2 separate regions of the Homo sapiens genome follow, and region 2 is linked to region 1. The links are contacts of gene promoters, found by promoter capture Hi-C in blood cells and fetal thymus (Javierre and others, 2016). All regions are on one chromosome and are shown on one strand. Each heading gives the region's core, a stretch centred on a gene start or on the middle of the fragment in contact. The rest is flanking DNA. Distances are from core to core; before and after follow the strand shown. Region 1 holds the start of CABP1 (calcium binding protein 1). Region 2 has its middle 13 kb from the start of HNF1A-AS1.

Evidence for each region. The method cuts DNA at HindIII sites, captures the fragments that hold promoters and counts their contacts. A CHiCAGO score of 5 or more calls a contact.
Region 2: a fragment that was not itself captured here is called in contact with the fragment with the promoter of CABP1 in region 1 in 2 of 17 cell types (M1 macrophages and endothelial precursors); the score reaches 8.0 in M1 macrophages.

Annotation. Positions count from the first base shown.
Region 1 is chr12:120,637,861-120,643,983 of GRCh38, reverse strand. It overlaps CABP1 (calcium binding protein 1), which reads right to left and starts at 3,358. Exons shown (of 6, transcript NM_001033677.2): 1 at 2,645-3,358. The coding sequence starts at 3,298. It overlaps CABP1-DT (CABP1 divergent transcript), which reads left to right and starts at 3,462. Exons shown (of 2, transcript NR_183426.1): 1 at 3,462-3,934. RefSeq lists silencers at 2,379-2,478, 2,699-2,868, 2,879-2,978, 3,199-3,498 and an enhancer at 4,970-5,471. The HindIII fragment of the contact is 19,814 bases long and covers 1-6,123 here.
Region 2 is chr12:120,956,129-120,961,866 of GRCh38, reverse strand. No RefSeq gene overlaps it. Among named protein-coding and RNA genes, the nearest start is that of HNF1A-AS1, 13 kb to the left of the region's middle. The HindIII fragment of the contact is 7,737 bases long and covers 1-5,738 here.

The DNA.
Region 1 (6,123 bases), core at 2,109-4,608:
TTAAGGTAGGAATTCATCTTTGTGCCTTCAGTGTGATTCTGAACACTGGCTCTCTGAGACTATTACAAATGAAAAGGAAGAAGGCCTTGGTAGTTAATCAACAATAACAACAAAGAAGAAGAATAACTAACACTGATAGAGTTAGCAAGGGCTCCGTGCCAGGCCTGGGCCAAGCTCTCTCTATCTCTCCGTATCTCATTTAATCTCCCAAGCACCCTGATGATCCCTACATTGCAGGTAAAGAAATAGACTTGGCCAAGCACGGTGGCTCATGCCTGTCATCCCAGCACTTTGGGAGGCTGAAACAGGTGGATCACTTGAGCCCAGGATTTCCAGACTGCCCGGGCAACATAGTGAGACCCTGTCTCTATTATAAAATATATTTTTTAAAAAAGAAATAGACTTAATGAGGTTAAGCAATTCACTTAAGTTAAAAACAAATGAAACTTGGGGAGTCATGAAAAATATACTTCCCCAGGGCTGTATTTTTCTCTAAGCAGATCTTAACTAAAAGTTTCTGTATTCAGAACCCCATCTGCCTTCTCTTGGTTCTGACCCTGCCTCTAAGGACAGAAATCTCAATACGGAGAAAAGGGAAGAAAAGATTAATTCCTCTCTGTCACAGGAGACTGGAGGCTCTGACACGAAAGTCCCAGCCTGGGTTTGCTGTTGTTGCTCACGTAGATGACTTCGAGGTGTCAGATGGAAGCCCAAACTGAATGTGCTGGGCTTTAAAGTAAAAGCCCGCAGCTGAGAGGCAAGAGCTTCCACAGGGAGGTAGTAAATATTTGATGGGAACTTCCAGCTCCTCCTGACTCAGGTGACCCTGGTGACATTTCAGAACATTGGGCCGGAGAATTCACTTAATGACTGAGAAATTAGAAGGAGAAACAAAAGCACGTCGCTACAATGCTCGGAGCTCAGAAAGGGCTCATGTAGGCAAATTCTGCAAGACAGGAAAGAAAGGACTCTTTTTTTTTTTTTTTTTCAGGAGCTGAGTCAGATCAGCTGCAAACTGAGTAACCAGAAAGTGTATGATTCTAGGCCAATGACCTACCCTTCCAAACTGCTAGGTACAGCCAGGGCCCTGGCTATCTGGTTCACTGTTGTCTTCCTGGTGTCTAGCAAATGTCTGAACAAACAAACCACAGGAACTAAGGAAACCCCTGAAGGTTTCCTTAATAAATGCTCAAGAAATAATTGATAAATGAATGAATTGGTATCACCCATTCAACAACCCAGCATTCCTGCTGCAACCCAGCCCCAATCCAAAGACCACTCGTGCCCTGGCAGCCTACACCTCCTCATTAACACAAAGCACTGCAGTGAACTCCCCTGACACATCGCCTCACTAACTCTCACGGCTCTGCATCCACATCTCTACTCCAGAGAACTGTTTCCAGCTAACTCGGCTAACGAGGGCTCCCTGCAGGAACAAAGCCACACACCACTGCCCTATGGCCCCACCACAGCAGCACCACGCAACCCAAATCCATGTGCGGCTGCCTTCATGTCAGACCTCCACCAGCATCAGCCACTGCCGAGTAGTATTTTGAAAAGAAATGTGCAGATCTGAAGCAAAACACACAGGGCCTCCTTGGAATTCTGATCCGGCGTGGCAAGCCAGGAGCTTGAAACAGCTTCTTTATGCTAGATCTCAGCACAGAAAGGCACAGCCCCCCCTGTTTCCCTACAAACCACGCAAACGCTCTAATCAGACCTCTGCATGACACCTCTCGGAGGCTGCCACAGAACTGTCTCAAAGCTGTGCCAATGAGTTTGACTTGATTACAGACTCCGAACTAGGGGAAACCCTGGCTTTTTTGCTCAGGAGTTCAGAGGTTTCCTTCTACTGAGCCTGTTTCCCCAGCAGCACAGCCTCAAACTGTAGACCTATATTGTGACTACGGAGCTGCTTTTAAAGGGCAGGCTCCCAGGTGCCTGGGACTCTTGAGGGAAAGGCCTGAGGGAACCACTGATGACCTCTTTGTGGCCTTTCTCACCCTTCCAATGGCATCCCTAGAGTGACAGCCTCCTTAAACCACCCCAAAGTTCCAGTTTGAGCCACAGCTCTGCATGCCCCTCCATGCCTACCCAGACACCTCTTCTCTTTCCTCATATTTTTGGATCTCCTAACTTTTCTCAGGCCTTCAGGGACATGATAGGCAGTGGCCAGTGTCCCTCGCCCTCAAGTAATTCTGTGTTCTCTGAGGTCCCCTCTCTTGACCCCCAGACTCCAAACCGCTTGCTCTCCTGAGTCCCTCCCTGGCGGTACTGGCCAGAGGCCAGAGGAGTGGGTTTGGCGCCACCTGCTCGGAGCGCCCCTCCTTGACCCCCGCAAATCTCCAGGACGGTCGTAGAGGTCGCTCTCTTCCAGGACTGGCGGGTTCTGGCGGGTATGAGGGAGGCTAGCGGGGAGGGCCTTGCCCCAAGAGGCCCGGAGCGTGGACAGCGCACGGGGTGCTGAATCAGGCACGGGGAGGAGGAGTGCCGGCAAGGGCGCCGGCCCGGGGAGGACGAGGTGAGCCGAGGCGTGATCCGTGGGGGACCACGGGCCGCGGGAGGAGGCTGTGGACGCGCAACCGCGGCCGGCAGGGTCCCGAGCGCCTTTCCCGGGAGCGCTGACGGGAGGCGCGGCCCTTACCTGGCCAAAGGCGGAGCTGAGCATGGGGCGCAGCCGGTGGAGGAACGGGTCCGCCTCGGACGCGGCGGCTGGAACGGAGTCCCCGCGGCCCCGGGCTCGCAGAGAGCCCCGGAGGCCGAGCGCCGGGGACAGTCCCCGTTCCTCCCCATCCCGCCCGCGGGCCGGCGGCAGCGGCGACGACGGCGAAGGTCGGGACGCCGCGGCCGGCAGCGCCTCCCGGGGCCTGCAGTGCGCCTGGGGGAGCACACGCTGGCTCCCCCGCGCGCCCTCCTCTCGCGGCGCCGGCCGGCACAGGGGCCTCCGCGAACTGGGGTCCCCGGACGACTGCGGCGTCGCCGGGCAGGAGCCGGGTAGCCGGCGGCTAGGCAGCCCCGGGTCCCGGGCAGGGCCGTGGCGGGGAGCCCGGCTGCCCCCGCTCGCCGCCGCCGCCGCCGCCTTCAGCAGCGACGTCTTGGACTCGCTTTTGGCGATGTGCGAGCTCATCGCGGCGGGGCCCGCGCTCGCATGGCCCGGCGGGGGCGGCGCGGTGCGGCGCGGCGCGGGGCCCCCGGCGGGCAGAGAACGGGGCTCCCGGCGGGAGCCAAGCCCGAGGACGCGCTGGAGGCGGGCGCCGTCCCCCGGCCGCTTAAATGCGGCCCCGTCGCCGCCGCCCATGTGACAGCGCAGCCTCTACGCCCGGAGCCCGGAGCTCCCGGCGGCTGGCGGTGCAGATCTGGGGGCGCTGCCGGCTGTCCCCGGAGAGCCCACCCCCGGCTCCCTGGCGGCCCAGGTACCGCCGCGCCCCGCCCCTTGCCCCGCCCCGCCCTGGGGGAGCCCCGCTTCCGGGCGGCCCCTGGCGGCGAAGGGGACGCTGCAACGCGGAGCGGGAGCACGAGGAGGGAAGGGGCTTGGCAATGGGCCCCAAAGAGGCCGAGACCCCGGGAGTGCCGGCAGCGCTCTTTATCACGCCTGGAGGCTCCTGCAGAGCCCCGGAACCGCCCGAACCTCCAGAAATGCAGGCAGGGTGCACTCCCCAGGGGGTACAACTTTGGCAATGAGGACTACAGAGGTCCGGGGAGAACCGGAGACCCGAGGAGCATGAAGGCACTCTGTGACATCACTGCCTACAAACGCAGGGGCCGGAATGCAGTGACAGGACACTGCTGGGAGGAAAGTCTCCCAGCGCCTCCGTGTGGGGCTGCCTCCACTCCCAATACCGTGCGGGGGGACTAGGACGACCCTGGTAAGTCAGCCACAGGATATCAGTTCTCAGAATAGAAGAGAAGCCAGGTCTGGCAGCACCTGATGATGGTAAGTCTCAGGTAGGACCCATTTGCTCCCCCTCCAGCTCTTGTCCCCTCTTTCACCTTCCTGCCTTTCTAGATGCTACAGAAATTCCTGCTCTCGGTGGGCAGCCAGGGAGCGTCCCAGGCCTTATCTGAATCTCAAATCCCAGCTCTGCCACCTACCATCTGGGTAACTTGGGCAGGTGTCATCAACCTCTCTGAGCCTTGTTCTCCTCTTCTGTAAAATGCAGATGATAAGCATAACTAATTTCTTGGTAACAGCAGACGATACTATGCACACAAAAGGCCTAGCCCAGTGCTCGGACAGGGGACCATCCAGTTAAGCCAGTTCCCTTCCCCCTGCACATCGTGAGGCCCCATCTACCATTCTTCTTTAGTATCCGGTGCTTGAGCTTTGCGGGGGGCTGGAGGGGTTCCTCCCAGGCTCTCCCTGTTCTGGTCCCTGGCCCCAATGCCATCCACAGTCTTGTCACCGCTCGGCCTCATTAAAAGGATACACGAGGCCGGGCACAGTGGCTCGCACCTGTAATCCCAGCACTTTGGGAGGCCAAGACCGGCGGATCACTTGAGGTCAGGAGTTCGAGACCAGCCTGGCCAACATGGTGAAACCCTGTCTCTACTAAAAATACAAAAATTAGCCAGGCGTGGTGGTGGGCGCCTGTAATCCCAGCCACTTGTAGGCATGAGAATAACTTGAACCCGGGAAGTGAAAGTTGCAGTGAGCCGAGATTGGGTCACTACACTCCAGCCTGGGCAACAGAGTGAGACCCTGTCTCAAAAAAAAAAAAAAAAAAAAAAAAAAAGAAGGGTACACAAACAGATTGCCGATATTACACTTCACTCATGCCAAGAGTTCATCCTTCTCTGCACTGTCTGCTTCTTTACAGAGTGTTGCTCTGTCACCAGGCTGGAGTGCAGTGGCACGATCTCGGCTCACTGCAACCTCTGCCCCCCAGGTTCAAGCGATTCTCCTGCCTCAGCCTCCCGAGTAGCTGGGATTACAGGCACCCGCCACCACACCCAGCTAATTTTTTGTATTTTTAGTAGAGATGGGGTCTCACCATGTTAGCCAGGATGGTCTCGATCTCCTGACCTCATGATCTGCCCGCCTTGGCCTCCCAAAATGCTGGGATTACAGGCGTGAGCCACCGCGCTGGGCCCTGTGTGCCTCTTTTACTTATCCATAGGCAAGGAATTAAGGAAAATGGATGGGCTGGGAAAGCAACTGCCCAGAGGCTAAAGTAAACTAGGAAAGTGTGGCAAATTGTTCCCCAGATCAGCTACCCTTAAGGGACTGAATTGCCATATCAAAGCCACTCAGGTTCCTAAAGCCCAAATCCTGAAGCAGCCTGGGGCGTTGCAGCCCTGAAGGCTCATTGCAGGGTCCTCTGGGATATGCAGGGTGTAATGAGTCCACCCTTTGAGTTCGAGGTCAGTCAATGTCTTACCTGCTCCAGCCCTCAGAATAATCAGTGTTTGGCAGGATTAAAAACAAAGGCACATTCAATATAAATCACAGGAGATAAAGAACCTTATCAGAAACCCTCAGGAGCCAATGAGAGGCAGAGGACTGCTGGGTATTCTAAATCCCTGCTGTGCCACTGTTGGTAACCTTTCTGAAATGCCCTAAATATTTTTGGGCAAGACCTCGGTCACCAACTAGTTTTTGAAAAACTGAAGAATCTGATTATGTTACCTATGATTACTAGAGTAAATAAATAAAAATTATGTCCATGAAGCAAATGGATGAAACACCTTCACTCATATCCCAGATAATCCTGGATGTATGCCAGGATTCCATTTCATTTGTAAAGTGTATTAATTTGGTCACTTATTTGACAAATATGTATCCAACCAGGCACTGCAGTAGTCATCTTGGATACAAAGATTGATCCATTCATTCAACAAATAATTGAGTGCCTGTTATCTGCCAGGCAGTGTTCTAGGTACCAGGGATATGATAGCAAACAAAATGGTCTCTATCCTCAGCAACAAATAAACAAATACATAAACGCATGGAAAAGTAATGGTGACAAACTGGTGGTGTTTCTGCCATGGGGAGAAATAAAGCAGGTAAGAGACTAGGGTTTAACGGGCGGTGCTATTTTATTTATTTATTTAATATTTTTACATAGAGACAGGGTCTTGCTATGTTGGCCAGGTTGGTCTTAAACTCCTGACATCAAGCAATCT
Region 2 (5,738 bases), core at 1,606-4,105, 320 kb before region 1:
CCTGGCATGGAAACTCCTGTTGTTCCAGCCAATGCCTTGGAGAACCAGAGACCACGCCCCCTTCCTCCCTGCTGAGGAGTCAACGAACGAGACCAAAGTCCCCTGTTCTTCTCTGCAGTCAGCAGAAATCAGAGAAGAACATCTTTAGACAGTCAGCAGACTCAGGAACTGTGTACTCTAGGACTTTTTAAAAATTTTTTTACTTTTATTTTTTTGAGACGGAGTCTCGCTCTGTCGCCCTGGCTGGAGTGCAGTGGCGTGATCTCAGCTCACTGCAACGTCCACCTCCCAGGTTCAAGCTATTCTCCTGCCTCAGCCTCCCGAGTAGTTAGGATTACAGGCGCCTGCCACCACACCCGGCTAATTTTTGTATTTTTAATAAAGACAAGGTTTTGCCATGTTGGCTAAGCTGTTCTCCAACTCCTGACCTCAGGTGATCCACCTGTCCCAGCCTCCCAAAGTGCTGGGATTACAGGCATGAGCCACCGCACCCAGCCTGGGACTTTTTTATTTTTACAGAGATGGGTGATGATTCATGGGACGTTGGAGATGCCCCAAGACTGGAGATATGATTTGGGGGATCCTGAGGATTGGTGACCTAGGCAAAACTTGGGGAGGCTGGATCCTGGGTATGGAGTAGCCAATCTGAATAAAGACCCCTGCGCCAAAGGTTGGCACAGAAATAGTGGTCTTGCCAGCCTTCAGGGGAGGCCCACACCAGTCCTAGACTGCCTGCTTCTGGAAGGAATCAACTCTTACATGTTTATGCCATTTCACTTTGGGTTTTCTGTTCTATACAGCTAAACCTAATACTGGACTGATACATTATTATTATTTTCAGAACCAACCAAAGCTGGAATAACACTCTTGATAATGCCAGTTTCCTGGTCCTAGAAGTGAGCTAACAGGCTTTTCAGAGATGACGAGATGTGAAATCCCTCACTGATTCATGCTTCATGTGTTTAATGAGCACCCACTAGGTGCTAAGCCTTGTTCTAGTCAGGAATAAAACCGATACTTCACGAGGTTTACAGCCTGGTGGAGGAGACGTGTATCAGGCTAGTGCGTGTAGACCAAAGGCCAGAGGCGCCCACTCAAGCATTTCCACCTACATGAGAATCCCATAGTCTTTTTAGAAGAATAGAAATAGTAAGCCCTGAGTCACGACTGCATTTGAATGCCACCTTACCTGAAGTCTGAATCAGGGATAATTTGATTTCAGAAGAATAAAATGAGGCTCCTAACACCTGTCCCAAATTGCAAGGAAATGAGGGTATTCTCTTTTTTTTTTTTTTTTCTGAGATGGAGTCTCGCTCTATCGCCCAGGCTGGAGTGCAGTGGCGCGATCTCGGCTCACTGCAAGCTCCACCTCCCGGGTTCACGCCATTCTCCTGCCTCAGCCTCCTGAGTAGCTGGGACTACAGGCGCCCGCCACCACGCCCAGCTAATTTTTTGCATTTTTAGTAGAGACGGGGTTTCACCGTGTTAGCCAGGATGGTCTCGATCTCCTGACCTCGTGATCCGCCCGCCTCGGCCTCCCAAAGTGCTGGGATTACAGGCGTGAGCCACCGCGCCCAGTTGAAATGAGGGTATTCTCTAAGAGGCAGATGACAGAACCTACTGCAATGAATTTGTCAAGCTCAAGGCTAAGGACACAGTCCCTCCACAAGGCAGCCTTCACTTCAAATGCCAGGTGCAACTGGGGATTCCTGGGCCACCCTCACTTCTGACCGCTTGGCTGCATTGAGGGTTCCCACTACCCCCTGTGGTTCAATAATTCACTAGAATGACTCATGGAACTCAGGAAAGTGCCCCGCCTCATAACGACAGTTTTTATGATAGCAAACAGACACAGATCAGAACCAGCCACAAGAAAGGACATAGAGGGTGAGGTGCGGAAGGGGTTCAAGTGCAAAGCTCCTAGTTACCTTCTCTCCAGACAGTCACCTCCCCCCAGCTATGATGCGTGATGACACTCAGAGAATACTGCTAACCAGAGAAGCTCCTGAGGCTTTGGTGTCCAGCGTTTTTGGGGGTTTTGTTTTTGTTGTTGTTGTTTCTGAGATGGAGTCTCGCTCTCGTCGCCCAGGCTGGAGTGCTGTTGCGTGATCTCAGTTCACTGCAACCTCCACCTCCTGGGTTCAAGCGATTCTCCCGCCTCAGCCTCCAGAGTACGAGTAGCTGGGATTACAGGCATGCACCATGCCCAGCTGATTTTGTATTTTTAGTAGAGACAGGGTTTCACCATGTTGGCCAGGCTGATCTCAAACTCCTGACATCTGGTGACCCGCCCCCCTCAGCCTCCTGAAGTGCTGGGATTACAGGCATGAGCCACTGCCAGCCAGTGTCCAGCGTTTTTTAGTGGGGCTTGATCCCTTACTGCCAGTGTGGCTGACCTTTCATCTCCAGTCTCTCCTGAGCTAACTCTTGTGTATCCAGCTCATCTGGAGGTTGGAACTGATACAGGATGTTCCAAAGCCTTCATTACAGATCACATTGTTAGACTATCTGGTGGCCAAAGGCCCCAGGCAAACACAGACACTTCCATCAGACAGGACGTTAAGGGGCCTAGAGATCACCTCCCAGCAACTGAAGGCAAAGATAATCCTCCTACTGTACATCCTTTTTTTTTCTTTTTTTTTTTTTAAGAGACAGGGTTTCATTCTGTCGCCCAGGCTGGAGTACAGTGACACACTCATGGCTTGCTGCAGCCTCGACCTCCTGGGCTCAAGCAATCCTCCTGTAGCTGGGACTACAGGTGTGCACCACCACACCCCGCCAACTATACATCCACCACCACCCTGTCCTCTCAGCCCCCAAAGTCATGAGGCTTTGACTAGGTATCAGGATGTCTTCAAATGAAAATTAATGAAAACAGCGGGCCCGGTGGCTCACACCTGTAAGCCCAGCACTTTGGGAGGCCGAGACAGGTGGATCACCTGAGATCGGGAGTTCAAGAACAGCCTGATCAACATGGAGAAACCCTGTCTCTGCTAAAAATACAAAAAAAGTAGCTGGGCATGATGGCACATGCCTGTAATCCCAGCTACTTGGGAGGCTGAGGCAGGAGAATTGCTTGAACCCGGGAGGTGGAGGTTGTGGTGAGCCGAGATCATGCCATTGTACTCCAGCCTGGGCAACAAGAGTGAAACTTCGTCAAAAAAAAAAAAAAGAAAAAAAGAAAAGAAAATTAATAAAAACAAAAATCCAAAGTTGGACACACACACAGAGAACACCTTAGGACAATAGAGGTACACCGTGGAGTGCTGCAGCAGCAAGCCAAAGATTGCCAAGGATTACCAGAGACGTGAGACGTTGGAAAGGGCAAGAGTGGAATCTCCCCTCTCCCCCAAGTTTGAGAGGGGGCCAAGCCTTACCGACACCTTAATTTGAGGCCTCTAGTCTCTAGAAATGCAATGTGCAAGGCGGGGCGCGGTGGCTCACGCCTGTAATCCCAGCACTTTGGGAGGCTGAGGCGGGCCTTAAGGTCAGGAGTTCAAGACCAGCCTGGCCAACATGGTGAAACCCTGCCTCAAAATGCAAAAAGTAGCCAGGCGTGGTGGCATGTGCCTGTAATCCTAGCTACTCAGGAGGCTGAGGCAGGAGAATCACTTGAACCCAGGAGGCAGAGGTTGCAGTGAGCCGAGATCACACCAGTGCACTCCAGCCTGGGCAACAGCGTGAGACTCCATCTCAAAAAAAAAAAAAAGGGCCGGGTGCAGTGCTCACGCCTGTAATCCCAGCACGTTGGGAGGCTGAGGTGGGAGGATCACCTGAGGCCAGGAGTTCAAGACCAGCCTGGCCAATATGGTGAAACTCTGTCTCTACTAAAAATTCCAAAAAAATTTAGCAGGGTGTGGTGGCGCATGCCTGTAATCCCAGCTACTCGGGAGACTGAGACAGGAGAATTGCTTGAACCCGGGAGGTGGAGGTTGCAATGAGCTGAGATGGCGCCACTGCACTCCAGCCTGGGAGACAGAGTGAGACTCCGTCTCAAAACAAAACAAAACAAAAATGCGACGTGCAGTGATGTGCTCCAGCTGGTGTGATCCCCTTGGGGATGTGGCAATGGATGGGCATCCCCAGACTTGATGATCATCCCTTTGTCTCTTACCAGCAATCCCCAAACCAATTCACAAGTTCTGTTTTGTTTTGGTTTGGTTTTTTGTTTGTTTTTTGAGACAGAGTCTCACTCTGTCGCCCGGGCAGGAGTGCAGTGACATGATCATATCTCACTGCAGCCTCAAACTCCCAGGCTCAAGTGATCCTCCCACCTCAGCCTCCCTAGTAGCTGGGACTACAGGTGTGCACCACCATGCCTGGCTAACTTTTTTCATTTTTTGTAGAGATGGGGGTCTCCCTATGTTGCCCAGGCTGGTTTCGAACTCCTGGGCTCAAGTGATCCTCCCATCTCAGCCTCCCAAAGTGCTGGCATTACAGGCGTGAGCCACCGTGCCCGGCCACAAGATATTTTTTAAGCATGGAGGTTTCTGTGCATTGGATTCCCCTCTTTGAGCTTCACCATATATATTTGTCCAAGGGCAGGGAGATCCGGTGTAATCTGCTTACACAATATTCCTGGAGAAGTTCTTCTTTCAGTAAATACTTGTACATCTCTGCAGAGTGACAGCAGGTTCTCCAGCAAACACCTTGGGGAGCCCAACCCTTTCCTGGGAATGCCCCTGTGTTAATGGGAATCAAAGCTGAGAGCAGGTGGGGAGAGTACATTCTTGGCTTATCAGCTTCCAACAGAAAGGGGAAATAAAAACAGATGCAATCTTTTATTGCAAAGGGATGGGTGCCTCTAAGATCAGATAAAGCCCATATAGGATTATGCAGAAACTGGTGTAAATTTGCAGGTCATCAAGACTCAATGTCCCCTCCCTCCCCACACTGTCCACCTCTGGACCATTTTGCACTTTATATTTTCTGAGAAAGGAGGCAGAGGGGAAGAAGGGGTTCAAAGGTGTCAGCCTGGCTCCTGGTGACCAGCTCTGTTTAGCAGGAAGTTAGCTGGAACAACTGATTGAGCCCTGGGATAATCTATGCTGTCACTGTGGACACAGCGGAGCAGAGGGCACACACAGTGGAGGGCACACACAGCGGAGGACAGACACAGTGGAGGGCACACACAGTGGAGGGCACACACAGCGGAGGGCACACACAGTGGAGGGCACACACAGCGGAAGGCACACACAGTGGAGTTACCTCTGATCCCCATGCCCTACGGGGCTGCCACCTTCCTGCCAGGGTTTGGATCATCACAGTCATTTGCATCTTCACTCCACAGCGTGAGTGCACATACACATCTGTTTTATTGCATTTGGCCCTTATAGGAATGAGTGGGATATGGGGAAATGAAAAGGCTGAGACTGCGATAAAAAATGTAGCTCTTAGGCCAGGTGCGGTGGCACATGCCTGTAATCCTAGCACTTTGGGAGGCCGAGGTGGACAGATCACCTGAGTTCAGGAGTTTGAGACCAGCCTGGCGAACATGGTGAAACCCCATCTCTACTAAAAATACAAAAATTAGCCAGGCGTGGTGGTGGGTGCCTGTAGTCCCAGCTACTCAGGAGGCTGAGGCAGGAGAATCCCTTGAACTCGGGGGTCAGAGGTTGCAGTGGGATTGCACCGCTGCACTCCAGCCTGGGCGACAGAGTGAGACTCCATCTCAAAACAAAACGAATCGAATCAAATGTAGCTCTTGAAACAACCAAAACAAAGTTAAAGTTGTAAAG